3 separate regions of the Homo sapiens genome follow, and regions 1 and 2 are each linked to region 3. Evidence: promoter capture Hi-C in 16 types of primary human blood cells and fetal thymus (Javierre and others, 2016). All regions are on one chromosome and are shown on one strand. The core of a region is centred on a gene start or on the middle of the fragment in contact, and the rest is flanking DNA. Distances in the headings are between cores, read along the strand shown. Region 1 holds the start of PABPC1L (poly(A) binding protein cytoplasmic 1 like). Region 2 holds the start of TOMM34 (translocase of outer mitochondrial membrane 34). Region 3 overlaps LOC105372630 (a long non-coding RNA gene).

Evidence for each region. The method cuts DNA at HindIII sites, captures the fragments that hold promoters and counts their contacts. A CHiCAGO score of 5 or more calls a contact.
Region 1: a contact is called between the fragment with the promoter of PABPC1L here and a fragment that was not itself captured in region 3, in 1 of 17 cell types (endothelial precursors). The highest score is 7.0, in endothelial precursors.
Region 2: a contact is called between the fragment with the promoter of TOMM34 here and a fragment that was not itself captured in region 3, in 1 of 17 cell types (endothelial precursors). The highest score is 6.8, in endothelial precursors.

The regions. Positions count from the first base shown.
Region 1 is chr20:44,908,631-44,912,717 of GRCh38, reverse strand. It overlaps PABPC1L (poly(A) binding protein cytoplasmic 1 like), which reads right to left and starts at 2,658. Exons shown (of 15, transcript NM_001372179.1): 1 at 2,382-2,658; 2 at 1-58. The coding sequence starts at 2,574. RefSeq lists a silencer at 2,475-2,804. The HindIII fragment of the contact is 5,219 bases long and covers 1-3,106 here.
Region 2 is chr20:44,959,147-44,962,987 of GRCh38, reverse strand. It overlaps TOMM34 (translocase of outer mitochondrial membrane 34), which reads left to right and starts at 2,591. Exons shown (of 7, transcript NM_006809.5): 1 at 2,591-2,781. The coding sequence starts at 2,655. It overlaps LOC124904912 (a long non-coding RNA gene), which reads right to left. Exons shown (of 2, transcript XR_007067599.1): 2 at 3,451-3,841. RefSeq lists a silencer at 2,333-2,412 and enhancers at 2,643-2,732, 2,743-2,792, 3,573-3,662. The HindIII fragment of the contact is 1,710 bases long and covers 1,822-3,531 here.
Region 3 is chr20:45,289,192-45,293,195 of GRCh38, reverse strand. It overlaps LOC105372630 (a long non-coding RNA gene), which reads right to left. Exons shown (of 3, transcript XR_936763.3): 3 at 2,844-3,120. Among named protein-coding and RNA genes, the nearest start is that of RBPJL, 16 kb to the left of the region's middle. The HindIII fragment of the contact is 879 bases long and covers 1,741-2,619 here.

The DNA of each region.
Region 1 (4,087 bases), core at 1,409-3,908, 380 kb after region 3:
ATGCGAATAGGCTGGCCTTTGAGCATCTCAAAGTTCATTGTGTCCAGTGCCCGCTCCGCTGGACAGAAGGAAGAGGAGAGAAATTAGCAAGTTTAGGGAATTTTCTTACCTTGATCACCCACCCCTCGAGGTGCTTAACTGGGAGCCAATAAAGAGAAAGTCATTGTCTGGGTCCCAGACAATAAGCCAAGATAAGAGCCCAAATAACTGAGATAAGAGCCCAAAGGCTCAGGAAGGATAAGCTGAGAATTAGTGTGTATGGTGCTCCCCCAACCTTCCAGTTATGATCTCATTCAACCAACTCCCTGCAGCCACATGAGCATGGATTCCTGCCCCTCATTTTACAGATGGGAAAACTGAGAATAAGAAACATGAAAGGTCTGTGGCAGCGTCAGGTCTATTCTGGATTCTAAAGTACACTGAGTGGATAACAATGTCCATATGACAAGGGGTGGCAGCACTTTGAGGAAATTAAAACTCAGAGGTGCTGCAGGGCAGAGCTGAGGTTAGATCTCAAGCAGTCCGGCTCTGGGGAAAGTGGACATTACCTCTCTGAGCCTGTTCCTCACCTGTAAAGGGGGAATGATGGTAATATTACCTACTTTTCCACACCTAACAAAGGGAGATACTACCAACTACCAGGTTGTTGGAGGGACTGAAAAATAAAGAAGGTATGTAAAAGTGCCTTGTTTGTAACTTTGTGCCTGACACAAAATAATGTCTCAAAACAGCAGCCGATGCCCAGCCTCCGGCCACTGCTGCAGCCTGTGTCTCTCCTGGGTGATACACGTGACCTGTTTCAGGGAGTCTGCTAGTGCAGAGACATGGAAGGGGGCTGTGGGGAACACAGTGGAGCAAGTTTCAGGAAGCCCGGATTCTCCACCTAGTCTTATCATAAATACCTGGGGCAAAACCCTTCTCTCTGCAGCACGGTTTCCAGGCCGAGTCCCACTTCATTCACAGGGCTTGGAGGAAGATGGGAAGAGGCAGGAGGTGGAGCAAAGCAGAACAAACAGAAAAGTGCCCAGGAATCCAGCCCAGTAAGGGGCGGGGAACAGGCCCGGCGGAACAACCCCTTCCCTAGCAAACCACCCACTCAGGCAACCACCAGGTTCACCCAGGCGACCTGGCGCAAGGGATCCCTCTAGTGGACGCCGGCCATTTTTTGGGTGAGTTTCTGGAGTCTTACATCAGAATGTTAAAGCCACTATTTTCGTTGTTGTTTCTTTTTTGTTTGTTGTTTTGTTTTGTGTTGAGATGGAGTCTCGCTCTGTTGCCCGGGCTGGAGTGCAATGGCGCAGTCTCGGCTCACTGCAACCTCTGCCTCCCGGATTCAAGCGATTCTCGTGCCTCAGCCTCCCCAGCAGTTGGGATTACAGGCGTCCGCCATCATGCCCAGCTATTTTTTGTATTTTTAGTAGAGAAAGGGTTTCGCTATGTTGGCCAGGCTGGTCTCGAACTCCTGACCTCAAGTGATCTGCCCACCTCGGCCTCCTAAGATGCTGGGATTACAGGCGTGAGCCACTGCGCCTGGCCTTATTTATTTATTTATTTATTTATTTATTTATTTATTTATTTATTTTAGGTTACCACTTAAGAGCGTTTACGAGGTAACAAGCAGTTACCATTCTTTATGCATAGACAGCAGTTCTCCATTCTTTATGTTATTGGAGAATACGCCTTAGCCCCATTTTGCAGATGAAAAGGTGCAGAGCGTGAAGGCTTGCCCAAGCTCACTCATCCTCTCCACTCTCAACAGAAGTGCAGGCAAACTCATCGGACAAGCTCTAATCAATGCTATCAGCTCTGAGAAAGCGGCCTTGCGGCCTGGAGGCAGCGGTTTTTCAGAGCCCGTGCAGGTAGAGGCGCCCAGTGTGGATCTCACGTCGCGCTGGGAAAGGCCTGAGCCCAAGGCTGGGTTCTCCTGCCTCCCCTGCTCACCAGCTGTGTTGCCTTGGGCATCTTCCTCACCAGGTGCTTTGAATCTCTCATCCTCACAAGCACTCTATAAGGCAGCTAGGACCCCCATTTTCCAGACACGCATCTGAAGCTCAGAATGGTCGAGTAACTTGCCCAGAGTCACACGGCTGCTGGGCTTCTATCCCTGGTCCGCCTGACCCCCACCCCCACCCCCACAAAGCCTGTATCTGTTTTCACTCGACCCTAATCTCTCTCCTCTGTAGAGGAATAGCAGTAAACCACACTAATTACCAATTCCCGTCTCAGGGGCCAGGCCTCTGCCAACGCCCTGTTATCTTTGAGCCTCAGTTTCCCCGGCTGCAAAGTGTAAGATGAAAGCGCAAGCGGCCCAGTTCCGGCTTCTGTCTGTCCGCCTGCTTGTCCGTCGGTCCTTCCCCTCCCGCCCCATCCCCGGGGCTCACCGTCCGCGGGCTGCTGGAAGTTGATGTAGGCGTAGCCCAGCGAGCGCCGGGTGGCTACATCGCGGCACACGCGGATGGACAGGATGGGGCCGGCGGGAGAGAACTTCTCATAGAGCATGGCCTCGGTCACGTCGGGGTGCAGATCGCCCACGTAAAGCGAGGCAAGCGGGTAGCCAGAACCGCTGGCGTTCATGGTGGGCAGGGGGCCGGGGCTGCGGGGCAAGCAGGAGCCGGGTCACCCAGCAGCCCCGCGCTCACCCGGGCGGAAGCCCTCCTTCCTGGGCGCGGGCCCGCCCCTTCCCTTTACCGCCCCCGCGTCCCTGCGCACCAATCGTGGGCGCGCTCGGACGCCCCTCCCCCGGGATCCCTCCTGGGCCCACCCCCCACCTGCGAGCACTTGGGGATCTAAAAGCTACAGGTGGGGACACCTCTGACCCCGCCCTGGGAGGCGGAAAAAGCCTTCAACCTGGCCTTGAGCAGGGCTGCTGGGACTTGAGTGGAGCTCTCAAAACCCCCAGCTCTTTTGAAAGAGCCGAGGACTGGGACGGAAAGGACGCAGGGGACTGAGTTCTAACCCCGGAACAGATGATCATCTTTCTGAACCCGTTTCCCTTCTCTGTAAAATGGGAATGATTCCCTCCTGACAAGAATGAAAGGAGACCCAAACCGCGCTTTTTGCGTTTCACACACAAACGGAATTCCGAACAGGCCACTGTTTCAAAGCTTGTGTAGAGAATTTTACCCTGCTCCATTGAAGATGTCTTCCTCCAGAGAGCCTGATCCAGTCCCACCGTTTCGCACCAAGGATGGAAATGGCTTTGAGACATGAGAACTGGAGACCACTAAGGCCTTTCTTGGTACTGGCTCATATTACCAAGACCCCTTTTCCTGGGATATTCCCTGTCCCTCTGCTAAGCCATTACACATCCATTACACCAGGGAGGTTCACTGAGTTACTTGTGGCTCAGCCTAAATGCGGACAATTGGGAACTAATAGCAGAGCAAGACCTAAACAGAGCAAGACTGTGAATCTGAGCTTGCAGCGTCAATCTGTGGTATAGGGACATTAAAAACAACACAAAAACAAAACAACTACTCCACTGAGCACCAATACTTCACTTTTCCTCTGATAGGACTTTCCTGGTCTCACTGATCCAACAGAGCAGGTAGGCCCCCACTGACTTTTGGTTGAGTGTGGCTTCAACAGGTGGAACAGCTCCTAAACTAGGGACAGAAGGTGCCCATCTGGCTGTCCAGCCTCAGAGTAGCAAGGAAGCACTAATTCTAATCTTGGGCTAAAAAAGACCCCTCTATCCTGATATTTTTCTCTCCTTGTGGTAATGTGGATGTTTTCAGAAGGGGCAAATCCTGTGAGGAACCAGCTCTGCAGGCCACCATACAGTGTGAGGACAGGTGAGACGCCAGCTTGGTGATGACCAAGACTTATGCAACCATAGGTTACCTATTTCACTGGCTTGGTTGTATCTCAGAGTTAAAAAATGGGGAAGGGATGGTGGGCTCGAATACAATGCAAAATAACTGTCCATACCAAATCTTAGAAGTCACTAAAGAGGACCTAATACCTGCATGGTTTGTTGTGGAAGGTAGAGAGGTATCAAGTAACGGGTGTAAAGAGGCTGTTTAATTAATGGTAATTTCTTCCCCTGGATAACACCTTGACTTCTGGTCCTAAATAATGAAATAAA
Region 2 (3,841 bases), core at 1,342-3,841, 330 kb after region 3:
ATTCTCCTGCCTCAGCCTCCTGAGTAGCTGGGATTACAGGCGCATGCCACCACGCCCAGCTACTGTTTGTATTTTTAGTAGAGATGGGGTTTCACCATGTTGGCCAGGTTGGTCTCAAACTCCTGACTTCAAGTGATCCGTCCACCTCGGCCTCCCAAAGAGCTGGGATTACAGCTGTGAGCCACCACACCTTGCCTTTATTGTTTATTAATAAGCTAATAAGTCAGCAGTTGATTCAATGACTCAGCAATATCTATTTCATTTTTTCCCCTCCCATCCTACTCAGCATGTTGGCTTTTCATACTTGTGTTTATTGCCTCATGGTTGCAAAATGACTGCCACACCTCCAGGTATCATATCCTTAACCCAGCACTACCCAAAGCAGAAAAAGAGCAAGAATGGCTACTTGACCCAGTACCTCTCTGTTATGGGGAGGGAAACCTTTCCCATAAACACTCAGCAGACTCTTTTTTTTTTTTTTTTTTTTTTTTGAGACGGAGTGTTGCTCTGTCGCCCAGGCTGGAGTGCAGCAGTGCAATCTCAGCTCACTGCAACCTCCACCTCCCGGGTTCAAGCTATTCTCCTGCCTCAGCCTCCTGAGTAGCTGGGACTACAGGTGCGTGCCACCACCCCAGCTAATTTTTTGTATTATTAGTAGAGATGGGGTTTCACTGTGTTAGCCAGGATGGTCTCGATTTCCTGCCTTGTGATCCACCCGCCTCGGCCTCCCAAAGTGCTAGGACTACAGATGTGAGCCACTGCGACCAGCCTCAGACTCCCTTTTATCTCATTGCCCAGATCAGCATCACATGTGCATCCCTTGATGAATCACTGGCAAGAGAAAATGACATTTTTCTAATTGGCTTAGAGCAATCCTGATTCACTTCCCCAGGCTGGGAGAGTCTCAGGCAAAATTCAGGCTCCTGGAAGCAAAGATGGAAGTCACTGAGTAGCCAGCCAGCAGCATGGGCCTCATCTGGTTTTCCCACCACAGTCAGTGTTCATCCTTGGTCGGGGCAGAGGGCAAGGGGAAGCATTTCAGATGGAACAGCCATCCAGCCCTCAGAAAGCTTATAGTCTGGTGGAGTTAAGTGTATGCAGATCATTATAACTGAATTCCTGAAGGTAGAGACTAGATCTTTATCAATCAATGACTTTTATTGGATGCCAGACCCTATTAGGGTCTTGGATAAACAAAGATAAAAAGGACCCACTTCCTGCCATTAAAGACCTCGCAGTGTTTAAGGAAAACTACAAACTGGCAATCAAAGGGTGACTAATGCAAAGTTAGGGATAAAGCTAGAGACCAATAGGGAGCAAAGGGAGCATAGTGGGGGGTGGGGAGGGGGCTGGAAGCAGGAAAGGCTTTCAGAGAAGATGATGTTTGAATGGAATGTTATAAGTTAATTCAGGATTAGGCAGGAGAAAAAGTATTTAGAAAAAAAAATCCAGGAGAAGGAGATAACAAGCAAAGGCTAGGAAGCAAGAATTTAGTGTGTGTAGATAGCAATGCGTGGGACATAGAGTCGTCAGATGAGGCTGGAGATAAATTGAAGTCACACTCTGTGAAAGATCTTCATCCATTCTGAAAGCTGATCATACGAATTGGGTCATTCTTGTCATATCCAACTAAGACAGAATTGAAAAGCCAGGGGAACAAATACTCAGGGCATATAACATTGCTCCAAAAAAGTAATTTTTTGCAAGCCTGGCTGCTAAAACTGCCTGCTGTAACCTAAAACCAGTTTTATCTAATAGCTACTGAAACAGCCTGCTACAATTCTGAGTTTTATCCACCACTATCACTTACCAATCAAAGCTTGCCAGCTCCCCAAGAAGCTGATAAACCCCCACTTTACTAGTGCCTGTAAACTTCCTTGAAGAGCAATATGTAACATTTCTGTTTTATAAAAATCTCCAAACCTTCTCTTTGTTCTTCTGACATACCAAAGACAACCTGGTCTGTGTGTAAGCCCTGAATTGCAATTCTTGATTGCCAAATAAAATATTTAAACTTTAGAGATTCATCTCTATATGTTGACTTTGACACCATCAATCCACCTGTGCATTAATTTATTAAATAAATATCTATAGAGCACTAGGTACCAGGTACTTTCTAGCCTTGGAACCTTTGCACTTACCATCCCTCTGGCTGGAACAGCATTCCCTAAATCTTGTCTGGTCTCAGCTCAACTATTACCCCCTGAGAAAGGCCTTCCTTCATCCCCTTATTTAAAATAGCCCACACGTGGTCACTTTCCATTGCATTATCCTGTTTTGTTTTCCTTACAGCACTAATCACATGAAATGAGAGTCTTCGTTTGCTTATCAGTTAATTGCCTGTGGGGACCCCACTAGGACATAATCTCCCTGATAGCGGGGCCAGCCTCCTTCCCTGCGTCATCCACGGCGTTCTAGCAACTCAGGGAGCCCAGAGCATGCTGCCGCCCCGCGTGCAAGGGAGCCTAAGTTCCAAACCGAGCACGCGCAGAGGGCGGGACGCTCCGGGCCTCCAGGTCTCGCAGGCCCCGCCCCCTCGCCGCGGGTTCGCTGTTGGGCGGAGATATTCGCCGCCGGCGCTTGCGCCCGGAAGGTGTGCCGCACCACACGGGGGAGGAAGGAAGGAGCTCCCAACTCGCCGGCCTGGCCACGGGATGGCCCCCAAATTCCCAGACTCTGTGGAGGAGCTCCGCGCCGCCGGCAATGAGAGTTTCCGCAACGGCCAGTACGCCGAGGCCTCCGCGCTCTACGGCCGCGCGCTGCGGGTGCTGCAGGCGCAAGGTACGACCCCGGCCCCCATCTCACCTCCGGGCCTGCTCCTCCAACTCCCGCAACCACCGCCCGGGCCTCGCGCGGCGGCCAGCAGTCCTGCCCGGCCCTCCCACCCTTCCAGCCCCTTCCGACTCCGGCATCCTACCAGAAACTTCCTCGGCCCTTTCTTTCCACCTGCTTGTTAACTGCCCTGTTGGCCCCCATCCTAAGTTATTTAGGCCTCGTTCTGAGCCCTGAGAAGAAAGCTAAACCCTCCTCCCCCGCAGCAATTCATTTTTCAGTTAGTATTTGTTGAGTAGCTGTTATATACCGCCTGTGTAACAAGACACAAAAAGTCCCTTCTCTCAAGGACAGCGCATTCTTGTGGGGGCGGTGGGGAGGACGTGAGTCTTAAGCGAGTCAGTAAGTAAACGAGACCTGTGGGATAATCAGGGTTAGGAAGAAGACAAATAGGGTGATGTGATAGAGTTGACTGGAGTGGGAGATCAAGGGCAACATCTGTAAAGAAGTGATATTTGAGGTGATGTCTAAATGATGAGAAGCCAAGCGCACAAGGTTTTCGGTCCTGAAGTGAACTGCAATGAGAAAGGCCCCCCCTCCAAGACGATATAAACATGGTGTGTTTCAGGGGTCAAAGCATAGTGAGCCAGGGCAGGGAATAGGAAGACATGAGGTCAGTTAGGAAGGCAGACCCTTATTTATTGTGGAGGTGTTGTAAACTCTGCTAAGGAGTTCGGATTTCATGCCAAACTGGAAGCTTGGCATGAAAGCTGCTGGATGGGAAGCTACTGGAGAGTTTGAAACAGAAGAATAGCATATTCTTACCAGTTCTCCCAGCGTCCAGCTTTCGTCAGCATACCGCAGACCTTTGCCCAAAGCCCCTTCTCCAGGGTGACTTAATCAGAAACCCTCATTGGTTAAAGCCTTGACTTTTGAAAGGAGCCTTGGATCCTGGTTTCTGTGAGTCACCGTTCAGTACCTATTTCCCTTTGCCGCCTTCCTTTTTTTCCTTTTCTTGGCTAGCATCTCTTGAGTGATTTACCATGTGCTAGACATTTTAGACACGATC
Region 3 (4,004 bases), core at 931-3,430:
ATTCCCCAGCGGACTGAACGCTTCGCTCCCGGCCACGCCTATCCCATGATGCCCCCAAATCTGGCTCAAAAGCTGCTAGTACTGAGCGCTGGTAAGGGGTGCGGGGGTGGCGTTGGTGGGAAAGTGAGAGGCAGTAATTGAACCCCTAAATGGATGGGGTGGGAGTGGATAGATGAGCTTTGACCGATTTTAACTCTCTCCTGCACTAGGTAGGAAGAGAAGGAGGTATCAGCTAGGACCCCTGTCTGTCCAGCCTGTGGCCTTCCTTCTGTCATCTTATCAACCCCTCCCAAAACACCTCTATCAGCAAAGAACACAAACCAGTACCATTTCCCGAGTGCATGTAAGAAACAACGAAGTTTAAAATGCTTCCAGTCCTAGAGTGATTTGGGGAAAATTATTTTGTGTTTGTTTCCTCATCTGCAAAGTGGAGACTGGAATTGTTACCCCCAAGCGTGATGGGGAGAATCAAGGACATTCTTCTAAGGCATGTGCCTTGTACCTATCCCTCAATTAATGGTAGCTATTAACTGTTCTTATAGTAACAGCTAACATATTTAGTGTTGGGCATTATTGTAACTGATTTGCAGGTATTTTCATTTTATACTTGGAACCAGTGAAATAAGAATTATTGCCTTTATCATCCCCATTTTACAGATGAGGACACTGAGACACAGAAAGGTTAAGTTTCCAACAGTAACATAACCAGTACGAAGCTGAACCAGGATGTTTCCTATGGCTGCTCTAATAAGTTACCACAAATTGAGTGGCTAGCAACACACATTTATTACCTTACAGTTTTTAGGTCAGAAGTCTAAGATGTGTTGGCAAGGCTTTATTCCTTCTAGAGGCTTTTGTTTCCTGGCCTTTTCCAGCTTCTAGAGGCTACCTGAATTCCTTGGGTCATGGCCCTACATCACTTCAGACTCAGTTTCCATCAGCACATCTCTTTCTCTGACTCTGACCTTCCCGTCTCTGTCTTATAAGGACCCTTCTGTTTATATTGGCATGACCTTGATAATCAAAGATAATCCCATCTCAAGCTATCTTTTTTTTTTTTTGAGATGGAGTTTTTGCTCTTGTTGCCCAGGCTGGAGTGCAATGGTGCGATCTCGGCTCACTGCAACCTCCGCCTCCTGGGTTCAAGCGATTCTCCTGCCTCAGCCTCCTGAGTAGCTGGGATTACAGGTGTATGCCACCACTCCCAGCTAATTTTTTGTATTTTTAGTAGAAACAGAGTTTCTCCATGTTGGTCAGGCTGGACTTGAACTTCCGACCTCAGGTGATCCGCCTGCCTCAGCCTCCCAAAGTGTTGGGATTACAGGCGTGAGCCACCGCGCCCAGCCTCAAGCTCTCTATCTTAACCACATCTGCAAAGTCCCTTTTGTCGTGTGAGGTGAAATCACAGGTGCCGGGGATTAAAATGTGTACATCTTTGTGGGGAAGGCCATTCTGCCTACCACATGGGGCTTGAAGCCAGGCTGACTGACTTCAGAGCAGCTGCTCTTAAGTACTCTGTGCCGGGCACCTTGCTAGGCTTGGTGAAGAGGGAGAAACTGATGATTGAGAAAAACTCTTGAGCTGAGGAAGCTCCGGGCTAGAAGGGCTGAGGTCCACCTGACTGTTGCAGAAAGAGGGAACTTCAGATGAGAGGAGGGAGAAATCCTGGAGAGGTGATCCTTAAACGGTGGCTGGAATTTCCGCAGGAGGCCATGGAAGACTTTACAGGTGAGTGAAGCTTGAACTATGCGTGGTCAGGAGGGACTGGAGTATGGGGGGATGGGAATGATCATCTTACCTGGCCATGAGGATCAGATGAGCTAAAGACCTATGGACTTGGCATGTGACCTCACCTTGCCTTACCATTCATTTTACAGTTGGGGAAACTGAGGCCTAGAGGCCAGAGTTGCCTGCCCAAGGTCACACAGAGAGAAAACATCAGTTGCACCAGGAAGAAGCCTAGTGGGGAGGTCAAACTGGAGCAGGGTAGTCAACTGATAGGGGGCACTGAGGGCAAAGGCCAGGCTCCTTCCTTCCTCTTCCCTGGAGTTGGCAGGCACTGGCTTCTCTGGGGTTTCTTTTCTCATGCTTTTTTCTCTTGCAATCTCCCTAATGGCCACTGGATGGCGCCGGGAGCACTGATTTGGAGCTGGGTCCTAGAGCCTTCGCAGGCCGTTGGCATCTGGCACTTGGGCTGCAGAGCCTGTCCTCCCTTAATTCCCCGACTCTGGCAGCCCCACCACCGAAGTCTACAAGCTGCTTCTGTTCCCATGCAGTGGCCCCATAGTCCTGGATTTGAAGACCAGCCCTGCTACTTACCAGGTGTGTGTTGGTGTTGACAGGTACTGGTTCCCTTTCTCACTTCTTGATTCCTTTCTCTCATTTCCCTTTCCTCCTACCAGCTTAACCCTGCTGGATACAGGGAATTCCTGTTCCCTAACCATGCCCCACATAAGGTCAGCTAGCGCTTGCTTCTTTGTTTATACCCCCATCTTACGTTATGGGATAGAAGACTTACAAAGGACCCGTGAATTCAGGAAAACAAACATCCATTAACTCAAGAACAGAAAGTGAGAACCCAAGTAACAGTGTGAGGAGAGTAACACTGCCAAGAAAGCTTAGATGGAGAAGGCACCGAGCCCGAACAAAGACCCCCGGGCCCGGGTCTTTTGGTACCCAGGCAAGCACGGGTTTATGTGGCTTTCAGAGCCTGTTAAGATCAGGAATAAAGCACGTAGATATTGGGGGAGTCCTGAGCCCAGGTGTGTGGAGAGAACTCAGCGCCCTCAGCCTTCTTGGTTCCCTGGAGAGTTTGAATCATTAAAAAACGACAATATCTTCCCTAGTGGTTAGCAGAGATGCCACTTCTGGAGCTGTTTCTTAGACTTAGTAACATGAACTAGGCATGGCCTTGGGTGGGAAAGGGCAGGGCAGGAAGGGCCTGTAACTTCAGCCAAGTGCTGGACTCGCTTTCTGAATTTCACCTCTGTGTTGTCTGGCTCTGTTTCTCCGTGGTTTTTGGCCTTTCTCTTCTTCTATTCTAGCTCACAGCTCTCTCCATTTCTGCAGCCGGCACAGCTGCTGTCTCTAAGGACTGTCTACTCTTCTGGTTCTTTGGACCTAGGATAGTGAAACAGGAGAGAAAACTATCAATTACCAAACACTGGCCTGCATGCTGGGGGCCAGGCTGTGCCTTTCATCTGTGTTGTCTCGTTGAAACCTCTCAACCTACAGGAGGGAAAACTGAACTTGAAAGAGGCCAGTTAGTTGCCCAAGGCCCAGAGCTTCCAAGTTAGGGTTTGAACCCAGGTGGTCTTGATCCCAGAGTAGGCCCATTTCACATTTCTACCCTTCAGTTATTAGGGACAAATTTGGACTTTTTCAAAGAAACCTTTTTCAGGAAGTTTATGGAGTAGACCAAAGCAAAGCCCGAGATACAGTGCAGGTGAATGGCAGGAGCCGCTCTGCCGTTTGTCAGCAGCACAGCCTCCATGGGACACTTTTGCCTCAGTGTCCCCTCTTGTAAAACCTGTGAGCAGGCCAGGCATGGTGGCTCACACCTGTAATGCCAAGCACTTTGGGAGGTTGAGGCGGGCGGATCACAAGGTCAGGAGTTCAAGACCAGCCTGACCAACATGGTGAAGCCCCGTCTCTACTAAAAATACAAAAATTAGCCGGGTATGGTGGCATGTGCCTGTAATCCCAGCTACTCAGGAGGCTGAAGCAGGAGAATCGCTTGAACCCAGGAGGCAGAGTTTCAGTGAGCCAAGATCGCGCCACTGCACTCCAGCCTGGGCGACAGAGGGAGACTCCGTCTCAAAAACAAACAAAACCAAGAAACAAAACAATAACAACAACAAAAAAAACCTGTGGGCAACGCCAACCTCATAGGTTAAAAGGAAAGAGCGAAGTCATTGATGAATGTGAACATGCACAGTGGATGATCAGGAAGGGCCCCTTTCTCTGCAGGCCATTACTTGCCCTTTTTCCACACCCTCCCACTC